Regions from separate parts of the Homo sapiens genome. Here regions 1, 2, 3, 4, 6 and 7 are each linked to region 5. The links are contacts of gene promoters, found by promoter capture Hi-C in blood cells and fetal thymus (Javierre and others, 2016). All regions are on one chromosome and are shown on one strand. Each heading gives the region's core, a stretch centred on a gene start or on the middle of the fragment in contact. The rest is flanking DNA. Distances are from core to core; before and after follow the strand shown.

Region 1 (3,245 bases), core at 613-3,112, 1.2 Mb after region 5:
GTCCGTGTAGACTCAGTGTTTCGCTCCCATTTATAAGTGAGAACATGTGGTATTTGTTTCATGCGCATCCGTGTGAAGAGACCACCAAACAGGCTTTGTGTGAGCAACATGGCTGTTTATTTCACCTGGGTGCAGGCGGGCTGAGTCCGAAAAGAGAGTCAGTGAAGGGAGATAACGGTGGGGCTGTTTTATAGGATTTGGGTAGGTAAAGGAAAATTACAGTCAAAGGGGGTTTGTTCTCTGGTGGGCAGGAGTGGGGGGTCGCAAGGTGCTCAGTGGGGGAGCTTTTTGAGCCAGGATGAGTCAGGAAAAGGACTTTCACAAGGTAATATCATCATTTAAGGCAAGGACTGGCCATTTACACTTCTTTTGTGGTGGAATGTCATCAGTTAAGCTGGGGCAGGGCATATTCACTTCTTTTGTGATTCTTCAGTTACTTCAGGCCATCTGGGCATGTACCTGCAAGTCACAGGGGATGCGATGGCTTGGCTTGGGCTCAGAGGCCTGACATTCCTGCCTTCTTATATTAATAAGAAAAATAAAACAAAATAGTGTTGAAGTGTTGGGGCGGCGAAAATTTTTGGGGGGTGGTATGGAGAGAGAATGGGCGATGTTTCTCAGGGCTGCTTCAAGCAGGATTAGGGGCAGTGTGGGAACCTAGAGTGGGAGAGATTAAGCTGAAGGGAGGTCTTGTGGTAAGGGGAGATATTGTGGGACTGTTAGAAGAAACATTTGTCGTATAGAATGATTGGTGATGGCCTGGATATGGTTTTGGATGAATTGAGAAATGAAATGGAATAAGAGAAGGAGAAAAACAGGTATAAAAGGTAGATATCAGCTGTGATGGCTTGGAGAAACAGTGTAAACCAGCAGTGTAAACAAGAGCAGGGCATGTATGAGTAGTTGAGAATGGTGATTAGGAGTATGACTAGACAAAAGATAGGAGGGATGACAAGTTTTTTGGGGCACAGTCTAAGTTGGTCTGGTGTCTAGAATGAGACTGGGGCCTAATAAAAAGGAGCGTCTACACAGGAGCTTAAATGGGCTGTACCCTGTAGCATTCTGAGGACAGGTCTGACTTCTGAGAAGGGAAAGTGGTAAAAGTATTGTCCAGTCCTTTTTAAGTTGGTGGCTGAGCTTGGGGAGGTGTGTTTTTAAAAGACCTTTAGTCCGTTCTACTTTTCCTGAAGGCGGAGGACCGTAAGGGATATAAAGGTTTCACTGAATACTAAGAGCCTGAAAAACTGCTTGGCTGATTTGACTAATAAAGGCTGGTCTGTTATCAGACTGTATAGAGGTGGGAAGGCTAAACTGAGGAATTATGTCTGACAGAAGGAAAGAAATGACTGCGGTGGCCTTCTCAGACCCTGTAGGAAAGGCCTGTATCTATCCAGTGAAAGTGTCTACCTAGACTAAGAGGTATTTTAGTTATCTGACTCAGGGCATGTTGAGTAAAGCTAATTTGCCAGTCCTGGGTGAGGGCAAATCCTCGAGCTTGATGTGTAGGGAAGGGAGGGGGCCTGAATAATCCCTGAGTAGTAGTAGAATAGCAGATGGAACACTGAGAAGTTATTTCCTTGAGGATAGATTTCCACGATGGAAAGGAAATGAGAGGTTCTGAGAGGCGGGCTAGTGGCTTGTACTATAGCATAACCTGCCTTTGCCGGTGTGTGGTGATTAGGCCTGGTGGAACTGCCATCAATAAATGAAGCGTGACCAGGGTGAGGAAGAGGAAAGAAGGAAATATGGGGAAATGGGGTGAATATCAGGTGGATCAGAGAGATACAGTCATGGGGGTCAGGTGTGGTATCAGGAATAATGTGGGAGGCTGGATTGAAGTCCGGCCCAGGAACAATGCTAATTGTGGGACTTAAAGAGTGAGTACAGCTGAAGGAGCCGGGGAGCAGAAAGTATATGCATCAGGTATGAGGAAGAAAATAGATTTTGGAAGTTATGAGAAATGTAGAGAGTGAGTTGAGCATAGTTTGTGATTTTTAGGGCCTCTAACAGTATTAAAGCAGCGGCAGCCACTGCACACAGACATGAGGGCTAGGCTAAAACAGTAAGGTCAAGTTGTTTGGACAGAAAGGCTACACGGTGTGGTCCTGGCTCTTGTGTAAGAATTCTGACTGCACTAACCATGCCTAGGAAGGAAAGGAGTTGTTGTTTTGTGAGGAATTGAGGTTTGGGAGATTAATAGGACACGATCAGCAGGGAGAGCACCTGTGTTTTTATGAGAATTATGCTGAGATAGGTAACAGATGAGGTTGAAATTTGGGCTTGACTGAAGTAATGGGGACTGTCTCTGAAGCCTTGCGGCAGTACAGCCCAAGTAATTTGCTGAGTCTAATGGGTGTCAGGGTCAGTCTAAGTGAAAGCAAAGAGAGGCTGGGATGAAGGGTGCAAAGGAATAGTAAATAAAGCATGTTTGAGATCTAGAACAGAATAACGGGTAGTAGAGGGAGGTATTGAGGATAGGAGAGTATATGGGTTTGGCACCATGGGGTAGATAGGCAAAACAATTTGGTTGATAAGGCGCAGATGCTGAACTAACTTGTAAGCCTTGTCTGGTTTTAGGACAGGTAAAATGGGGGAATGGTAAGGAGAGTTTATAGGTTTTAGAAGCCCATGCTGTAGCAGGCGAGTGATAACAGGCTTTAATCCTTTTAAAGCATGCTGTGGGGTGGGATATTGGCGTTGAGCGGGATAAGGGCGATTCAGTTTTAATGAGATGGTAAGGGGTGCATGATCGGTCACCAAGGAGGGAGTAGAGGTATCTTATACTTGTGGGTTAAGGTGGGGGAATACAAGAGGAGGATGCAAAGGAGGCTTTGGATTGGGAAGAAGGGCAGCAATGAGATGTGGCTATAGTCCAGGAATAGTCAGGGAAGCAGATAATTTGGTTAAAATATCTCAGCCTAATAAGGGAACTGGGCAGGTGGGGATAACTAAAAGACAGTGCATAAAAGAGTATTGTCTAAGTTGGCACCAGAGTTGGGGAGTTTAAGAGGTTTAGAAGCCTGGCTGTCAATACCCACAACAGTTATGGAGGCAAGGGAAACAGGCCCTTGAAAAGAAGGTAATGTGGAGTGGGTAGCCTCCGTATTGATTAAGAAGGGGACGGACTTACCTTCCACTGTGAGAGTTACCTAAAGCTCGGCATCCGTGATGGTCTACGGTGCTTCCGAGTGATCAGGCAGCATCAGTTTCAGCCGCTAAGCCAAGAAGAAGTCAGTCAGAGAGCC
Region 2 (3,341 bases), core at 150-2,649, 1.2 Mb after region 5:
CCCAAATCACCAGTTTTTCAAATCATGAGAGATCTCTCTCTGATTTAAAACTCAAATGATGGTTTGTACATTGTTGGAGAATCTTCTTTGCTCTCCAGTCCAGCCCAGGCTTTTGGATCCACATAGAGCTCCTGCTCTGTCTGGAATGCCCTGGAGGAGTTTCTTTCATCTTTTCTGCCCCACCCGTAGCTATTGTCAGTTGAAAGCCTGAGGTTTTTTTGGTTTTGTTTTGTTTTTGTTTTGTTTTGTTTTTGTTTTTGTTTTTTTTACCATTACAATAGACATTTATTTAAAGTAAAATATCTGCAGACCAAATAATTCTTAAAATTGTTTATTTCAAGTTTAACCATCTTCATTAACAGTTGCATCCACAGACTTCAACCATGTGATTACTTCTTTGCCCATTCTTCTCTTTCTTTTCTTTCCCAAATAACATCTTTCAGATACAGTTCAAGGCAGAAATTTTCCTCTTCATAGTTGGTCCACTGCTTTTGTTTTTTAAGAGAGGAGGATTCCCTCAGGTCTCTTGTTTATGCCCGGCTCTTGGGAACTAAAAATGGTGAGTGCCTTGGGTTGATTTATCACAGATCTCACGCTCTGCTTCTCTCCTCCTTCAGTAGGTGTTGCCTTGGTCTGGGAGAAGGTGCCTTGGACTTCAGGGGAATCTCCAGGTCTCTATCTGGTCTCCACCGCAGGCTCTGGTATACTGTATTAGTCAGGATTCTCCAGATGGATGGAACTAACAGGATATATGTACATATAAAAGGGGGAGTGTTTTTTTGTTTTGGTTTGGTTTTTTCTTTTGTTTTTTTTTTTTTTTGTTTGTTTGTTTGTTTTTATAGGGAGAATTGGCTCACACGATCACAAGGCAAAGTCCCACAACAGGCCGTCTGCAAGCTGGGGAAGAGAGAAGCTGGTAGTGGCTCAGTCCAAGTCCTAAAGCCTCAAAACCAGGAAAGCCAACAGTGCAGCCTTCAGTCTGTGCATGAGGGTCTGAGAGTCGTTGCCAAGCCACTAGTGCAAGTCCCAGAGTTCAAAGGCTGAAGAACCTGGAGTCTGATGTCCAAGGGCAGGAGGAGCAGAAGGAAGCATCCAGCACAGGAAAAAGAAGGAAACCAGAACATCCAGCAAGCCAGCCTATCCCACCTTCCTCCTCCTGCTTGGTTCCAGCCATGCTGGCAGCCAATGGGATGGTGCCCACCTACATGGAGGGAGGGTCTTCCTCTCCCAGTCCACTGACTCAAGACACACCCTCACAGACACACCCAGATACAATACTTTACCAGCCATCTAGGCATCCTTCAATCCAGTCAAACTGACACCTAACATTAACCATCACACATACTGTTCCTGAGCATTTGAGGAAAGCCTGTGGGGGAAGCATATTCTATTATTGAGGAGCCTCAGAATTCTAATCTGTCAGCCATATATGCCATTGCACCTTTACTAAAGTTCATCCTAATTCATCTTTATCCCCATCTATGGCAGATTTCTTTTTCTCTTGTGTTTACAAGAAGAATGAGAATCTCTTCCCTTCCCAGAAAAGGAAGAGATTTTATCTTAGGCCATTAGATGCTTCATGAGGACATTGGAATCAGCAGGCAGATTTAGAGAATCTACTCAGGGCTTTTTACAAGTCTGTATTTTCATTGAAGTTAAGGGCACTTAGCCTACCTGTGCCTCAGCTTTAGAAGCAGACATAATGATAATAATATCTGATTTTCAAGCATGTTCTAATGAAGACAGAGATAAAATATATCTGTCTTCTCTGCTATTTTCTAGAATTTAATCATGTATGGGTTCTTTTTTTTTAATCATCAGCTCTCTGATTAGAAAGACTATGATTTTGTTGCTTCTTACATCTTGCTTGGGTTATTTCATTAAAATAATAGTTTCTTGTTATTTTCTACATTCTAAACATAAGAGAAATCTTCCATCCTCTTACTTTCTATTGTCTATCACTGTGTCTTCCTGTGCTGTTTTCTGGGTATTTTCAGACAAATCATACATAAATTATCTCATCATTTGTAACTAATCTGCTTTTATCCTTGTTTCCTGGCTTTATACTTTGAAATATTTATGTTCGTGTGGTCTTGTTGTTAAAAGCTCCATTTTGCTCTTGTTCAAATTTGGTAAATTTTTGTAATCTCTTATTCTTTTGTCATACTTTTGCATTCCTCTCTTATTTCTTAAACATATTAAACACACATATTTTAGACATTCTAAATGTGGTAAATAAAATATACACAAATTTTGTAAGTCTGCCTCTAAGCACAGTTTGTTGTTCCTGGAAATTCTCTCATGATGTTTTATTTGTTCTTTTATTTCTCATCTGCTTAGGATTGTGTGGGTAGGAGTATGAATTCATGATCCTTGGAACTTCATGTGTGGGGATCTTTTAAGGACTGGAATCAAAATAACTTCCCTGTAGTGAAGATTTGCAACTGCCTTTGCAGGTCCTCGATGGTACTTCTAACCTGGGATCACTGAAAACACATTTTGGGGGAATTGAGCCCACTAGCAGTATATATTCCTGTCCCAAATTCATGAGTGCAGGCCTTTGGGTAGAAATTCTTCTGGGAGATATTGCTGTTTGTGTGTGCTTTTTTCTCTGATCCACCCACAGTTAGGTTAACAGTAGGTTAGCATCCCTATCTTCTTCCTCTTTGGGGGCTTTTTTTTTTTTTTGGCTTACCCCCAAGATATCTCCCTATGTGAGACTTGGCTTTTGGGGGTGGGGTTGTCGCTGATATGACATCCCCTAATTTTGGCCCCAGACTTTGTCTCCATTGCCCTTCTATGTGGCCTGTAACCTTCCATCTGCATCCCACCCGAGACTGTCTACATCCCACCCTGTTCAAATCTAGGGCAAATGGTTTCAGTGCTCCTTTCTCCTGGGGAGTTAAGCTTTCTTGTCCTTTCTCACTTTGAAGAGATTCCTTTATTTGCTGCTAGCTCAACTGTGCATTAAAAATATTTTAGTACATGCCTGTAATCCCAGCACTTTGGGAGGCCGAGGTGGGCAGATCACAAGGTCTGGAGTTCGAGACCAGCCTGGCCAATGTGGTGAAACCCCGTCTCTACTGAAAAATACAAAAATTAGCTAGGCATGGTGGCAGGCACCTGTAGTCCCAGCTACTCAGGAGACTGAGGCAGGGGAATCGCTTGAACCCGGGAAGCAGAGATTGCAGTGAGCTGAGATCGCACCACTGCACTCCAGCCTGGGTGACAGAGTGAGACTTCATCTCAAAATATAAAAGTTAAATATATATATATTTTAGTCAGCATCTTAATCATGCTATTAGTCTACAATTCTGCAGAAACCCCCTCTTTATTTTTGA
Region 3 (3,139 bases), core at 306-2,805, 1.3 Mb after region 5:
AAACAAAAAAATTAATAACAGAGACACTAGTTTTTCACTGAACGTTTACAAAGCTCACCTATAAATTATCCGGATTTATTATGGTGTTAGATCTTTAACTATTGTTAAAAATTTCTTCCTATTTTTTGTTCAGGTTTGTAGCAATTGTTCTGAGTCAATTTGAGCATGTTTTCCTTGAAAATGGACCATTCTACTTACATTTTCACATCTGAATATGAACTTGTGAATTATGAAATTTCTTGACTGTAGTTTTACCTGTTTCTCAATCCTGGTGCTGTTTTTCCTTCTGTTTGTTTGTTTAATCAAAGTTTACCAAAGAGTTGTTGGTTTCACTAGCATTACAAAGAACCAGCTATCAGATTTAATTGTCCTAAATCAATTGCTTTGTTTCCTATTTCATTAAGTTTGCATTTTCATCAATTTTTTCTTTCAGTTAAACACTTCATTCTCCGTATTTATTTCTAAAGTGACAATGTATCACGTAAGGCCTTAACATATTCCTTTGAATAGTGAAGGAATTGGCTATATCTTAAAGATTTTAATAAATATTGCCCTACTGTTTACTTTCAAAACAGTTTAGTATTTCAATTCTTATTTTCTCTGTTACCAAAGAGAGGTTTTTTGTGTGTCTTATGTGAGTTTAGTTATTAGGTAAGTTTTGCAGGTTTTGTTTTTGCAGAGGGAGGGGGATTTTTATTAAAAGCTCATATTAAATTGTAGGTATTTTTTATTGTTCACTTACTAGTCAACTTTTATACATTTGAAAAGTATTTTAACAAACTCCAGGTGTGTGGTTTACAAACAGTTGTATATAAATTATCCATTTGGAACTGTGATTCCAATTCCATCCCTTGTCTGCTTTTGCTCTCTCTTTCTAAAAAACATTGTGAAGTCTCTCACGACGAAAATAGATTTGGCCAGTCCCCCTAGATTTCCAAGAGTATTGCTTGACATCGTTTCACACTCTTAGGTACATACTAGCAGTATCTTCATGGCAAACTATACTTTTAATCAACATTTCAATAATGTAAATTCATTTCTAAGCTTTTATTATTTTTTACCTTACATGACTGCTTTAATGTCAGCATTGCTTGGAATATTTTTATCCATCCCTCTAATATTCAGTCTGTTTCATTTGATTTTAGGTATATTTCCTACGAAGGTGTCAGAGACGGAGACTGTACACAAAAATCACGCTCAACACTTGGTGGCCCCTATGAATATGAATATTCCATGTGTTCTCTGCTCAGGAAAGTTCCCTTCTGTCATGTCTTGATCACCTTCTCTCCTTCTGTTTCTGTTCTCCCCTCTGAGAAGTCCTAGGAGACGCATATTGAGACATCTGGCTCTATCCTCCAAATCTTGTTATTTTCTCTAATATCTTTAATTTGTTTGTCCCTTTGTATGATGCTCTCAACCGCCTAGGATTCAGTCTCTAGGATCAACTTAATTGATCTTTTATTTGTTCATCCAGTATTTCCACCTTTCTACTGGGTTTATTTATACAATTGGATTTTTAATTTTCAAGATCCCTATCTGGTTCAATTTCATAGCAGCAGCCTATGGACATGTTCTTAGACTTTCTCTAAAGGAAATGCAATCAGTTTTCAGCATTTCCTTCTCATTCATAATTAAAGACTGTTTCTCTCAGTCTTCTTGCGTCTGTTGCTTTTCTCTTTTTTCTCACTGCTTTTTCTCTAAGTTTTAGATGAGAGTTTAGGCAGAACATCTTTGGCAGACAAAGTGTATTTCTTCAGCCTACATTTTTAGTGCTATTCCTTCAGCAGTAAATGTAGATTCTCATTTCATAAATCTGTGGGACCCTGCCTTGCAGGGGAAGCAGTGGAAAGTGGACGCAGTTGTGAGGGTTTACATGGAGTATATAAACATCTTGTTTTCTGGGAAGAGGAGGGGCTAGCCCTTAAAGTGGCCATAATTACCCAATTTTCTGATATCCACGCCCACTCTGAGGAGCTCCATTGTCATAGCTAAAACTTTAGAAAATGAAACTGGGGCCACAGTTTATGAGCAAAGGCCAGAAACAGTTTTTGAAACCAGAAGCTTGGCATTCCTTTCACCCTTTAATCAATTACCTGGCAAAATGCTAATGTCCTGCTCCTTCTCCCACTCCCTGCCATCTCTGATTTGGGGAAACTCGCAGCTTCTGCAATGAAAACTTACTTTGTGAGAGCTGCTATTTTCTCTGCAATTGCGGGTTTCATCACCAATTGATACTATCTGCTGTGCATCTTCCTCATTTCTTCTACTGATGGTAATCTTTGTAACTATCCAGGAGTTGCTGCTGTTTTTGTTTTTTTTTTTTCCGGTCGAAAATTTTTGTTGGAATTTTAAAGAAAAGAAAGGCAAAGTAGCACTCAGATGGCCTTTTTTTGTAAAGTGAAGTCAACCTAATACTCTGGTGCTTACTTTGCAAATCTTTTCCATAAGTCAAGTATTAGTGTTAACAATACACTTAAGAAGTAAGGATAAACCCATCAAGGTCCACAGCTAAATAACCAGCAGATTCCCAGAAACTTTATGTATTTGGGAAAAGTAAAATATACAACAGACATATCCCTGCCCTGATTAAGAGGGTAGATAAAAACAAAACATAAAACAATTTTACTTGAGATAGTAATAAGTTATTTGAAAAAAATACAACAGAATATAGGGAGAGAGAGCAACTACAGAAAGAAGACAGAAGGGTTCTGCTTTGAATAGTAAGGCTTGGGAATAGCTGAATTGTAAAACAAATCTGTCAGTCCAAAAACGAAGATAATTCCATTCAACCGCTGACTACTGAATGGGAAAGCAAACGTTGTCACGTCTTCTATTTCTCTCAGCAGTAACTATTACTTAAAGTCTCACTTTCCATACACAAGAGACAAAGAATCTAGTCAAAAGCACATGGAATCATATCTAGTCATAGTGGTAGGTGAGCAATCAATGCCCAGGCAGCTGAAAGGTGGGAACTGTTAAAGCCTTACACCAAGGAAAACATAAACTTGTACTCTGAATTTTAAAAAAAAATTAAAGAAAAAAAGGTAAAGGTGACTTCTAAAAGAGACACCATATACCTGCACACAATTTAAATGTTTTTAATCATTTCCACTTGGAGAAAAAAATAACACATTAGTGA
Region 4 (2,961 bases), core at 1-2,500, 1.3 Mb after region 5:
TGGAACACGCTTCCTTCTAGCTCTAGGTGTAGAAATCCTACCTGCTCTTCCAGGCTCCGGGGTTTACCTCCACAACCCCAAGGATCTGCCACCTAAGGGGCAAAAAATCCCCTTAGCACGGAGTAATTTTTAGTAACATCACATTTTGAGTTGGATGATGGTGGTTTTTATGTCTTACAGATGAGTCTTCCCTTTAAATGCTGCAAAGTGCTGCATAGTAGATGTTAAATGAAAGTCAGAAAGAATCAAATGTGCTGCAAATAATTGAAGGTAAGAAACAACAAATATTTCCCTTCAAAAATGTTAATAAAAGTGTATTTTCTCCTACCTTTCTCAAAGCCAGTTCTCAAGACATCTAATGAAAACGAGTCTTGTTTACGTAATGCAGGGATAGGCAGACTCTGAAGAGCCACATGGTAAATATTTAAGCTTTGTAGGTCACACAGGTCTGTGCCACCTATTTGTCACCTTCTGTTTATTTAAGAAACTTCAAAATGTGAAAGTCATTCTTAACATGCAGGGTGTAAAAAAACAGGTGTGATTATTGGTCATAATGAAAATGTAGTAGGCCACTAATTGAGGAATGGTCAGAATTACATTTTTTCTCTTTCCTGCATGATGGGCCACACCTGTTTTTTCATCACGATGGAAACAAACAAGCAAGTGTGTATACTGCAAGTGGTGAACTATGGCTTTGGAACCACACATCTGTCTTTAAATTCTTACGCAAATGACCTATTTGTGCTGGTGTTTCCTTACAGAGGACCAACGGTAATTTAAGTAAAAAGTGACAAGGATGGGACCCACTCTATAGGATTCACTAGACAAATAGTTATTAATAATTTATTGATGGTGGTATCCATTTTGGAAAGGAGATAAATATATCTTCAACTGACTCATAGGAAAAAGATGGTTTGCTTTTTCTTTAAAAGCATTTTTCCTGTCAAACTTCCAAGATAAACTTGTTGTTTTTCTGCCAGAGAAGCCCTAAGACCCGGAGGAATGTCTGCATTCCAGTCTCTGGTCTTGGGATTCCCTGTGCCTGTCGAATCCAGCCAGCTGTTCAGAGGATCCAACTCAAAAAGTCTCACTTCTCACCCCACACGCTCATTACCTCTCAGATACTTGGTGTCTGCTTAAAACGAAAGCTCTGGAATTAGCATCATTGAGAGGTAACTGTTGATTTAGTTTATTAACATATACTTCCACTGAAATGGCTAATAGATATGGTCTAGAAACCAAGGAGAACTCAAAATGGAAAGCTGTCTATTCTTTGGAAGTTCAAGGCTGTGCTTTTAATTGATGCATTTAACTGTAAGAAAAATGAACTATATGTTCATTTGTTTCTTTTAATTGGAGAGATGTTTGATGGAATTGTTTGTGACTAACAGTGTGTTATTCAATGATATGACCCCCTGATTATTAGGTATTAATTTCCAGACCTGTGATGTAATGCTACCATATGCCCACAAGATGTCTGTCTTTCCCTGTGTGTTTTCCACATAAATAGAATTTCCGACGGTATTAGGACTTAACCGAACCTTCTTGCTGAGGGGAAAGGCCATCCTCTGGGGCATCCTAGGGTGGAAGGCGTCTTGTGGGAACCACTTTGCTATCCGCCCACACACGTTCCACCAGGCTTAGTCCTAAGCTGTCTTTGCTCCAGTTTTTCTCAACACTCAGGGTTATAGTGGTGGGGTTTCGACTTGTCCTCAGACATCAGCAATTTGCTCACAGCCTCAGCTCTTACCCTCAAAGTGATTTGAAGCCAGAGAGTAAACATGTTGCTTCTTCCTGAAACACTGATGTTACTTAGAAACCGGACAAATAAAATTTAGTTTTGAAACAATTAGTTTGAAATAGAAAGCAAAACTGATATGATTATTAAGCAAAATTTTCTTCAACCTGAGAAAGCTGATTGAGAAAAGTAAAAAAAAAAAAAGCAACATTTGAAAGGACTTTCACAACTCTCACATTGCAGTCGCCCTCTGTAAAGGAGGACAAGCCCACTCTGCCTTGCGGGTTTGTGAACACCTGGCGGCTGTAAGAGTTGGTCACACGAGAAGCTTCTTGTAGCTTCCGGGATCGGAGGAAGAAGGCGGCAGGTGCTCAGAGGTGACAGGTGTTGAGGAGGGGATTCTCTGTAGAGCAGCTGGCAAGGGCATGTCCCACCTAACTCTGAGGAGGGATAGGAAAGGGAGGGACATGTTTCCCCTTCACCTGAGGCCAGTGGGGGGTCTCCTTGGTTTCTAGACCACATCTAGCAGCCATTTCAGTGGATGTATATGTTAATAAATTAAATCAACAGTTGCCTCTCGATGATGCTATATTCCAGAGCTTTGTTTTAATCAGTGCCCCCACGAAGTGAAGCACTCAGAGTCAGATGCTACATGCCCTAGAGTGGTTCCAAGGGAACCGTGGGACAGCTCCAGGAGATGGGTTGGAGGTGACTGAGCCGCATGCTCACCCGCACTGGGATGAGCAGGAGTTCTGCATACTGGATACGGTGGGCATTTCAGTGGGAGCTGCGAGGAAAGCGAGGCTGAGGCAAAGTGAGCAGCCAGAAATAAAACTTTGCTCTTCCATCCCCCATTCAAAGAACTGTAGCTGGATGTCCACAGCTGGAAAGTCCTCACTTTGAACTGTATCCACACAGCACCAGTGGCAGCCACTCACCAAAACTTGTTTCTATTCTGTCTAGTTATTCCCCAGCCTCCCTGCACCTGACATGTGATTAAGTTCTACCAGCCAAACATCAGCAAAAGGGGCCTGGCCCCTAGGGCCTTCCTGTGCTCTTTGTCACTTCCTGCTGACTGGAAGAGGGATGAATCCCAGGACCCTGAGCTGGTGGTTAAGTTACTGTCTCTCGGCCCCACACCTTCCCTTTTATACTCTGCCTTGTGACGTAGGGACTGGGGAGCCACGTGCCACCTCTCCTGCCAGAGTTCTGTTCAGCTGTGC
Region 5 (3,158 bases), core at 124-2,623:
TCCATCCTCCAAAAGCCCGGGCGCCTGGGACGGGTGTCTGCACCGCGGGCGCCGGCCAGGACCATGGGCCCCGCCCCCGCCCCCGCGGCCTCCCCGCGCACTCACCCCTGGATGCCCGGGCTGTACGCGCGGCTCTTCCACGGGGTGCCGGGCCGCGGCGCCTGGGCCCCGGGGCCGCCCCCTCCGCTGAGAGCGGCCGCGCGGCTGCCGGACAGCAGGTAGTTGAGGCCGTAGGTGCTGGCCTTGTTCTCGCGTTTCCGGCGACCCGGGTGGAACTGGTGCTGCGACGGGGAGCCGGCGGGCGCGGGGCCGCGCGGCCCGGGGTGCCCGTTGGCTGTGCCAGGGGCGCTGGGCGCGCCGTCGGCGAAGTTGAAGAAGGCGCCGCCGCGGCCGCCGCCCGGCCGGCCCAGCGAGGCGCTGCTGGAGGACGACGACGAGCAGCCGGGGCTCTCGGTGCCCGACTCCGCGTTGGACGAGGAGGACGACGACGAGGACGACAGCGACGGCGACTTGTGCAAGCGCCGCGCGCCCTCGGCCGCGGGCCCCAGCGCCGTCAGCAGCGCGGGGGGCAGCGCGGCGGGCGCGGTGGGGCCGGGCGGCGGGGGCGACGCGGCGGGCAGCGCGGGGCCCAGGCCGCCACTGCCCCGCCCGGCCGCCCCCGCCGCGGCCGCCGTGTCCAGCGCCGGCGAGTTGAGGCAGAAATAGGACGCGAAGCCCGAGCCGCCGCGGCCCACGCCCTGCGAGGTCTCCCAGATCTGCATCCACAGGGCATTGGCCGGCCCCTTCTGCTCGGGCTGGATCCAGGCCACGCGCGGATCCATCCACGCGCCGCCCCCGCGGGGCCCGCGCGCCCGCCCGCCCCGACGCGGCCCCGCCCCCGCCGCGCCCCGAGGCCCGGCCGCGCGCGCACGGACGGACGGACGGGCCTGGGCCGGTGGCGGCGGCGGCGGCGGCGGCGGCGGGCGGGCCGAGCCCCGGCCTCCTGCTCTAGCCGCGCTCCCGTCGGGCTCCGGCGTGGGGCGGCGGCGGCGGTGATGGGCCCCGGCAGGCCGCGGCGGGCGGCTCCGGCGCTTGGCGCGTCCCAGCGGGCGGCTGCGGTCTCCGGGCTCCCGCTTCACGCGGCGCGGGGCGGGCGCGGGGGCCGCGGCGGCGGCGGCGTTCCACTCGGGCCGCGGGGAGAGGCCATCGGAGAAGGGCGGGCGGCGGGGCCGAGGGGGCGGGCCCAGGCGCCGAGCGGCTGAAGGACCCGCGGGAGGCGCCGCCGCCCGTGCGGCTAGCCCTCAGTCACGCTCGCGCCGCTGGCTCGGCGCTCCTGCGGCGGCGGCGGCGGCGGCGGTGAAAAGACACTCTCGGCGGCGACAGCGCGGGGGAAGGAGGGGGCCGCCGCCGCGTCCGCTCCAATGAGGGGCGGGGGAGGGGGCGGGGACGGGGGCGGCAGGAGGAAGCGCGGCCTCGGTCGCCGGGCCGTGTCGCCGGTGCGCACGCGCGACCGATTTCAAATCCTCACTAGACACTGCCGCCGTGGTTACCGCGCCTGCGCGTTGGGGCCCCGTCGGCCGCGGGCGGGGTGAGGACGGCGTCAGAAGCTACGCGACTGGGAGGGGCTGGAGGGAGAGGCGGTGGCGTTGAGCCATTACTGACTAGGCCGGCGTTGGGTGGAATAGGCAGCGGCTGGAAGGCCCGCACGCCGCCCTCGGCCCGCCGCGGCGCGCAGACCCCGGCGTGCAGACATGCGCGCTAGGGCCGGTGTCACCGGGCTGCCGCCTGAGCCGCGCTGCGCGTGCGCAGGGCAGCGTGGCCGTCACCGCCGCCGGTGGAAGTTTCCGAGCAGCCGGGCGGGGGCAGCGGACGCCACCGCAGGCGCTTCCCCCGCCGGCCGGCCCTCCCTCCTGACGTAAGGGCGGGCCCCGGTCGCAGATCCCGCCCCAGGTCTCTCATCCGAGGGTCCGTGCAGCAGGTCACGCTGCGCTCTCTGGGGTCCGCGCGTCGGCCCACGTGCTCCCTGCACCTCGCGGGGTGAGCGGCCAGCGTGCCGTGCCGGGTGGCTGGCTCCGCCGCTCCGGAGCCGGGAAGGACACGCGGCAGAGTCCTGCTCCCTAGCGGGTCTGCTTACAGGCGTTTGGTTTGCTTTTTAAAATGATTTTCTATGCGAAAAGTGAAGTGAAAACTTCCAAGTTAATTCCCTGGGCAAAATGGGCAGTGCTAGCCGAGGAACGGCTGGTGGGCGGCGCGTCCGGCCCCCGGCTTCGGTTTTTCCAGCTGCACCGAGCGGGCAGGAGTCAGTGGGAAACCGCCCGCCATCCACAGCCTGCCGTTTGCCATCCCGGTGTCCCGAGCGCGATGGAAGCCGGGTTGACAGTGGCACTGTTTGGAATACAGCGCCAACCACACATCCTGTGAGGTCCAAAGCAAACGCCAGTGTCGTTGATCATCGCGGTGCCCCGCGAGCCTGGGCGACGTGAGGCCCCGCGGCTGCCGCCCTGTCTTCAGGCGGAGTCCCCGCAAATGCACTCCCGGGCCAGGGCCCTGAAGCTGCCTTAGCCCAGTGGCGCCCGGGCTCCAAGCCTTTTAAGTAGAACGGGACCTGGCCTTCGTACAGGCGTGTTGTAAATGCTACCCCCTCGTCTCCAGCACAGATGAGTAGACATTACTAAGCACTTGACCCTTCAAACATCGCCCCAACAGGAAAGGTCCGTGTGTTGCATACAAAGGCTTTGGGGCAAGTGGTGGTGGTTAGTAATGAAAATGAATGTTTCAGACGTTTTCAAATACCTTCATATTGTACACGTGGAAATCATGACCAAGGATTAGAACGTGCATTCAGTAAACTACAGAAAATCACACACAAGTCAAACGGCCGTTATTCTGGAGCTGTTTGCTTCCAATGGCTCAGTCCAAAATCCTTGGTCATGCCTGGCTCCTCTCTCTGTCCACAATGAACACATCCTCTTGGCTCCACTGCCCGAAACAACCAGAACCCAACTGCTACCCCTCCTCCTCCCTCCACCCCTCTTTCCCCGCCACCCGTCCATTTTAAAGCAGTGCCTTCTAGCTGGTTTCCCACATTCTGCACAGCTGCTCGTGTGATCCTTTTTAAAAAACAAAAAAGATGTTACTATTTTAAAAATCATCTCATGCCACTCTTAGAATACTATGCA
Region 6 (2,950 bases), core at 211-2,710, 1.2 Mb after region 5:
AATGATGTCATGATCTAACTCTGTGTTTCTGCTGCGTAAGTGCCTGAGTGGAATTTCTGAGCCATAGGATAAATGAATGTTTTAATTTCATAAGAAACTGTCAAAGAGCCTTCCAAAGTAAAGATTTTTATCCTGTTTGCTGTACAATCACATCTTTTTAGTTTTCTTTGTTCTACTTTATCTATCACTGACACATCTAAGAATAGATAGCTCAAAGCATAAACTCACTGCACTAAACTTCATCTGTTAATTTTTGAATCCTATGTTTATCTGGTGACACTTCAGAGTAGAAACAAGACAAATAAATTCTCTCCTTACAGAGTATACAAGCTAGAGGAGCAGAGAGACAGCAAACAAAATATTTAATCTTTAAGAAGTGGTAAGTGCCAGGAAGGCAAATAAAGAAAAATAAGGGATCCAGGATGACTAGGAAGGTATGTGAAATTAATGGAGTGAAACACAAGAGTTGAGGGAAACAGAGCAAGAAAGCTGTCAGCACAAAAGCTTGAGCTAAGAATGGGCTTGCTGTGGTTGAGGAAGAAGAAGAAATCCATCGTGGTCCTGGCCGAGCCCACACCCGTTCCGTCCCACCACCCACCAACTGCTGAACTTCATGTGTGTTTTTGTGATATGACTATGGCCTGTCAGTCCCACTGGACAAGTGTACCTCCATCTGATTTTAATCACCACAGAAATCCCAACATTCACTCCATAATGATTTGTTGAATGAATGACTGAGAGAGTAAACAAAGAAATGAAGTGGGCAAATGAAACACTTCACAGCTTCGTTCACAACAGTAAAAGTGATGGATATACTCAATTATCCTGATTTATAAGCCCCATAAACATGGTAGTCAAAGATGGTAAATGTTTACCACTGAGATAAGACTGATACGATACTAGGTTTCATTTGTATATCATATGATTTAAAAATACTGATGATTTGATACAGCAAAGAATGATTCCCAGTCTGATCCACTAGTAGGGATGGAAGAAATAGTAAAGAGAAAAGAGAATCAAAGGACAACCCTCATGTCACCGTCTCCTTTCAGCTTTCTCTCATCTACTTCTTTTCATCAGCTTACAATTCCATCTTAAAGTTGCTGCCCTTTCCACCTAGTGGTACAGCAGTTTGGCTTGTCACTTACTTTAAAGTATCCCATACTTTAAGGCAACTATATCTAATTCTAAAGCAGCTGCACAGAGCATAGAACAAATACACAGTAATGAGAGATACTCATTTATTTACAAGTGGAAATATAGTGCTGATATAAGTAAGCCCTACTAAAGACCAGGTGCAGCTGGGTATAGCTAAAGCTATTCAATGGACAAAACATAACATTATTTTAAAAGACACACAGTAATCAGAGCTGAAAATATAGACTCCAGTATAAGGGAAAAAGGCAATCGTATATTTTCAATACAAAATTGTCACAATCTAAGCATACCTTCTTTAAGTAGGCTGTAGCAAAACAAACGAGCTCTTTCCAAGTCTCCGAGTTGCCGACAAATACCCACATACACCCTGCAGAGGGCGTGAATGTAATTGTGGTCCATAGATATCTTCTGAATTTTTAGTTCTGAGAGAATAGAGTGAAGCAAGCACTCTGCTAAATGCTGGATTGAAAAAAAAATTAAAAAGGCAATGTACACTCATACTTATCTTCAGCCTACCAAAGATTATCTAAAAGTTACAAAACTTAAGTATCTATTGAAAAAATAAAACTTGCGCTACATCAGAAGGTAGAGCATAGTAACTGGTAAGAACTTACCTAGCATGGTAAATCATGAGAATCGAGGTCGGGGGTACTGAAGAAATCCCCACGCCTGTCTGTTTCCTATGGCTGGTAAATGCTGCAGATGCCAGAATGCAAGTCTCAAAAGACCTAGCTGCATACTGTCACTACCACTAGTCAAATAATCATAATTTCTTGGGTTTTGCCTTATGTAATCTGTGTGAGTATATGAAATACAGTATGTAATTCTACTCTCATTCTTGTTTTCTAAACTCTAATTTACTCTATATACTGTTTAAATTTAAAATACTAAGTAACATTTTTTGTCCTAAGAGGAGCATTACATAATTTGATATATGCATTCACTTCCTTTCAAAGTGACTTACGGAGCTCCTTATGCTTTCTGCAAGGAAGCAATCTAAAAAAATAAATATTTATGCCAAAATGACTCCAAGTGTCTGCAGATAAGCACTAAGTGTGATCCGTCTAGCACTAGAAGTCATCCAAGCAAGGTACCAGTGGATATTTAGAAAATATAGAACTATAAAAGTCCTAATAAACTACATATTTAAATTTAAACCATCCCTTTTTTCCCTCTCTTGACACTAAGCATTTGCTCCTGTTTGATTTGTAACAAAAACTCAAGGAAAAGAAAAATTATGTGATAATTTGAAGCTTTGAAGAAAATAATTTTAAGCCTCTAAACATGCCAGGATCAAGTGGATATATGTAATTTTAGTCCTGACAGATACTTTAAAAAAATTTAAGTAATTTAATGAATAGAAATGACCAAATCTCCAGTGTCTTATCATATTTTAAATCTGTAAAATGCTGGCTAGAAATATAGTCGTAATGTTTACATGGATAACTCTCATCCTTGAAGTAAAACTTTTGTTCATGGTCATCTACACATTTTGCTGACAGTAAACAGCATCTGTCTTTGAGGACATGTAATCCCTAATGCACTTAGAAAAGAGCAGCCACATACCTTTTTTGTTGTGCTAAATTCATAAACAACTTCCTTCTCTTGATCTCTCATTACGGGCTTTTTGGAGATATTTCCCACATACACATGACTACGAATGACAGGTAACAGATCAAAAGAAAACTCTGCAATTTTCTTCAGGGCATTAGCTATGGCTTTATCATGGGACTCCACAGTTTCTTTTGGGCTTAAAGGCAACTGTGAAACTGCACTGACGGCTGGACTAGAA
Region 7 (2,930 bases), core at 27-2,526, 1.2 Mb after region 5:
GATCAAAATGCCTCATCATTTCGTCTTGCAATCACCTATACCAGATGATATACAATGTGTTGCTTTCCAAGTTACAATGGAATAAATAGAATTTAGAAGAAAGAATGGTTTCAGTAGGGCCAATGTGAAACGCCTGACTTCTGTTAAGTTAACAGATCAAAGATAAGACTATGGTCCCACCAAAATATGTATTTTTGGTCTGACACTTTGGCAACTGCTATTATACCACAGAGCAGTAATTCTCAAGTGTAGTCTACAGAAACCTTAGTGTCCTCTAAGTCAAACTACTTCACAACAATGCTAAGAAGTTAAGTGCCTTCCTCCCAGTGCTGACATGTGGTCTGATGGTGCAAAAGCCACAGCAGATCAAACTACCGGACTGTGAGTGCAAGTCAAGACAGTGGCACCTCGCTAAATGGGAGTTATTCTCCACTGCCAGGTGCTCACACTCAAAAAGCCAATTTTACTTAGTCACAATTACTCTCACTAAACCTGGACCCCTAAGCACAGAACTCTGTAACATGCTGTAGACGGCACAGGAAGCACTCCCCCATACACTGAGTACACTGGTTGTTGTGAAGAAATGCACTTATCCAATTGTTTGTCTTGTGAGTGAAATTAGGCGCTTTTTTCTCATAGGACACCACCTTTGATTGAAAGAACTGACAAACTATGGCTAACTGGAACAACGCAGATTTTTTTCAACAATAAACAAAGTGAACCTGTAACTTAAATGAACTTTATCCTCGTGGTCAATAACATCTGAGCTTTTAAGCAAAATTAAAAGTTTGGAACAATTTTCATCAGCTATCCTGAGCTTGACAGCTTTACAATATTTAAGACTTTTCTGTGATGAGATTGGTGATATTAAATGTGATTTTTGGGTATTGTTGGCATTTCGAAGATCTATGTCAATCAATTATTTTCCAAGTGAATAATGCAGGTTACAAAATCATAAGTGGGCAAAAGGATCCCTTCAACATTTAAGCTAGCTCAATGGATTTTAGTGTAACAAGGTATAAAAAGCTCACTGACAGCATTTCAGATTTCACACTTCAAGTACCCTTTAAGAAATTACTACTTGTTGAGTTTTATTGTAGCATCAAAAAAGAATATCCGTATTTGAAAAGGCTAGTAAAAGATTCTGCCCTCCATTAACTGTGTATTTGTATGAGAATGGGTTTTCTTCATATATTCAGTCTTACGGATATGAAAAACACACGAGAATGAATGCAGAACAGATAATGAAAAATCAGCCATCTGATATCAAACCAGACAGTACAAAGGTCTGCAACAAGGCAATGCGATTCTCATTATTTTTTGTTTGTTTTGGAAATATAGTTATCTTTCATTAAAAACGTCATTTATGGGTTCATTACTGTTCATTTTAAATGAATAACTAAATAAACAATTTCTGAGTTTTTAATTACTAACAAAGTAAATACAGATAGATGTAACCTGGAGTAACAAAAGTTCTTTGAGGGTTCTCAATAATAACTAACAGGTATGAGAACCAAAGATCCAAGGATGGAGATCACAGGGCAACCAAATTCCCCAAAGGCTAAAGCAAGCAGGATGGCATCATTCCCCCCATTCCCCTACACTCGCAGCCTTCCCTTACTCCAGGAGCTCTCCTATGGATGAGAACTTGCTTCAAAGTGGAATCCTGTTCCCTCCATCCAGGCAAATCCTCATCTTCTTTTGACTCCTAAGTAGGAGAATTGCGAACATATCTTGGATGTGCTTTTACAACAGTATCATATTGTATGCTCAGCGTTCTGTGTTCACATTCTCTCTCAATACTACAAGTGTCCCACAGGTCTATATGTGGATCCAGCATATGAGTTTCATCTCTATTTTAAATGTGGAGAAGCTGAGGCATGGGACGCTTAAGTAATTTGCATTACTTTGTATCCTCTACAGGAACTAGCTTAGTGCTAGGTACGTGCAGCCTGAATATTGAGATACACAGCAGATGCTCAGTACATAATTACTGATCAAAGAATATCAGGATAACTCCCAATGTAAGATGATATTGTAAATATCTGAATAATTTCTAGGGAGCCTAGGAAACTGAAAAGTAATTTACTTCAGAAATCAGAAATTTCAGGTCACTGACCACTTTCAAATATCTCTTTGCAATCAGATTAAACTGCTACCAGCATACCACTGGATCTGTCCTCTGGAACAATCTACCACGGATATTAACTGTATGACTAACAGCAGAGAAAGGGATGCACATCTAGCACAGCTATGGTATTACTCAATCATGGGATGTGCATGCGTTCCCAGGAAATATATCATCATGTTATAAGGGCTCCCTTTCAATTAAAAGCACTTAATGAAATTCAGTTTTATAAGTGATTTAAATTAATGGAGCTAAGGAGTAAAATAAGAGGAAATCATGAGTCTAGTAGATGATTTGGGGAAAAAGACTCAATATACGATGACCTGACAGAGATGACAGATTGGCCATGATGGAGGAAGAGCTCCCCACAGAAGGTATGTGAGGACACTCCAGGGCCATCCAGCCGTATTAGAATACAAATAAGAAATGAGGAGCTAATCTCAACGTCCATGACAATGCAATCCCCAGCACTGTCAAGGGAGCCCCAGCAGAGCTGAGGCCTGCACAGAAAGTAAGTCTACAGGCAGACCCTTCTAATAAACACTAATTAGAAGATAAAGACAGCAGGGTTTTCATTTAAGATTCTGGATGCAAGTTTGCAAAGGAAAGGTGAGCTGACACAATTTCAAAGGAAAGCTGACAGATTTGCCAAGAGAACAGATAGAAATCACTGAATAATGGCTACTTCGGTCTGACCTGCAGAAACCTGACATGTGACACAGTGTTTTTCTAGCTCTAGGTTCCAGTTAATACAAGGAGGGGCAAATTATTCAGGATTTTATAAGCTCTTTGGGGCAGAAAG

Evidence for each region. The method cuts DNA at HindIII sites, captures the fragments that hold promoters and counts their contacts. A CHiCAGO score of 5 or more calls a contact.
Region 1: a fragment that was not itself captured here is called in contact with the fragment with the promoter of TENT4A in region 5 in 8 of 17 cell types (naive B cells, naive CD8 T cells, total CD8 T cells and 5 more); the score reaches 10.8 in naive B cells.
Region 2: a contact is called between a fragment that was not itself captured here and the fragment with the promoter of TENT4A in region 5, in 7 of 17 cell types (naive CD8 T cells, total CD8 T cells, naive CD4 T cells and 4 more). The highest score is 16.4, in naive CD8 T cells.
Region 3: a contact is called between a fragment that was not itself captured here and the fragment with the promoter of TENT4A in region 5, in 4 of 17 cell types (naive CD8 T cells, total CD8 T cells, M2 macrophages and 1 more). The highest score is 8.2, in naive CD8 T cells.
Region 4: a contact is called between a fragment that was not itself captured here and the fragment with the promoter of TENT4A in region 5, in 12 of 17 cell types (naive CD8 T cells, total CD4 T cells, total CD8 T cells and 9 more). The highest score is 26.6, in naive CD8 T cells.
Region 6: a contact is called between a fragment that was not itself captured here and the fragment with the promoter of TENT4A in region 5, in 6 of 17 cell types (naive CD8 T cells, total CD4 T cells, naive B cells and 3 more). The highest score is 15.2, in naive CD8 T cells.
Region 7: a fragment that was not itself captured here is called in contact with the fragment with the promoter of TENT4A in region 5 in 10 of 17 cell types (naive CD8 T cells, naive B cells, total CD4 T cells and 7 more); the score reaches 21.6 in naive CD8 T cells.

Annotation. Positions count from the first base shown.
Region 1 is chr5:5,517,978-5,521,222 of GRCh38, reverse strand. No RefSeq gene overlaps it. Among named protein-coding and RNA genes, the nearest start is that of ICE1, 97 kb to the right of the region's middle. RefSeq lists enhancers at 1-286, 287-933. The HindIII fragment of the contact is 9,665 bases long and covers 1-3,245 here.
Region 2 is chr5:5,500,530-5,503,870 of GRCh38, reverse strand. No RefSeq gene overlaps it. Among named protein-coding and RNA genes, the nearest start is that of ICE1, 80 kb to the right of the region's middle. The HindIII fragment of the contact is 3,021 bases long and covers 1-2,909 here.
Region 3 is chr5:5,448,646-5,451,784 of GRCh38, reverse strand. The region is part of intron 10 of ICE1 (interactor of little elongation complex ELL subunit 1); the gene reads right to left. Among named protein-coding and RNA genes, the nearest start is that of ICE1, 28 kb to the right of the region's middle. The HindIII fragment of the contact is 1,017 bases long and covers 1,047-2,063 here.
Region 4 is chr5:5,418,060-5,421,020 of GRCh38, reverse strand. LOC101929200 (a long non-coding RNA gene) reads left to right here. Exons shown (of 6, transcript XR_001742583.3): 2 at 181-270. Among named protein-coding and RNA genes, the nearest start is that of ICE1, 3.1 kb to the left of the region's middle. RefSeq lists an enhancer at 1,669-1,738. The HindIII fragment of the contact is 1,637 bases long and covers 432-2,068 here.
Region 5 is chr5:6,711,647-6,714,804 of GRCh38, reverse strand. TENT4A (terminal nucleotidyltransferase 4A) reads right to left here and starts at 1,373. Exons shown (of 13, transcript NM_006999.6): 1 at 106-1,373. The coding sequence starts at 821. RefSeq lists silencers at 5-394, 765-834, 1,135-1,504, 1,615-2,054 and an enhancer at 2,225-2,284. The HindIII fragment of the contact is 9,360 bases long and covers 1-3,158 here.
Region 6 is chr5:5,465,001-5,467,950 of GRCh38, reverse strand. ICE1 (interactor of little elongation complex ELL subunit 1) reads right to left here. Exons shown (of 19, transcript NM_015325.3): 13 at 2,725-2,950; 14 at 1,449-1,617. Among named protein-coding and RNA genes, the nearest start is that of ICE1, 44 kb to the right of the region's middle. The HindIII fragment of the contact is 1,907 bases long and covers 507-2,413 here.
Region 7 is chr5:5,483,700-5,486,629 of GRCh38, reverse strand. The region is part of intron 17 of ICE1 (interactor of little elongation complex ELL subunit 1); the gene reads right to left. Among named protein-coding and RNA genes, the nearest start is that of ICE1, 62 kb to the right of the region's middle. The HindIII fragment of the contact is 3,984 bases long and covers 1-2,930 here.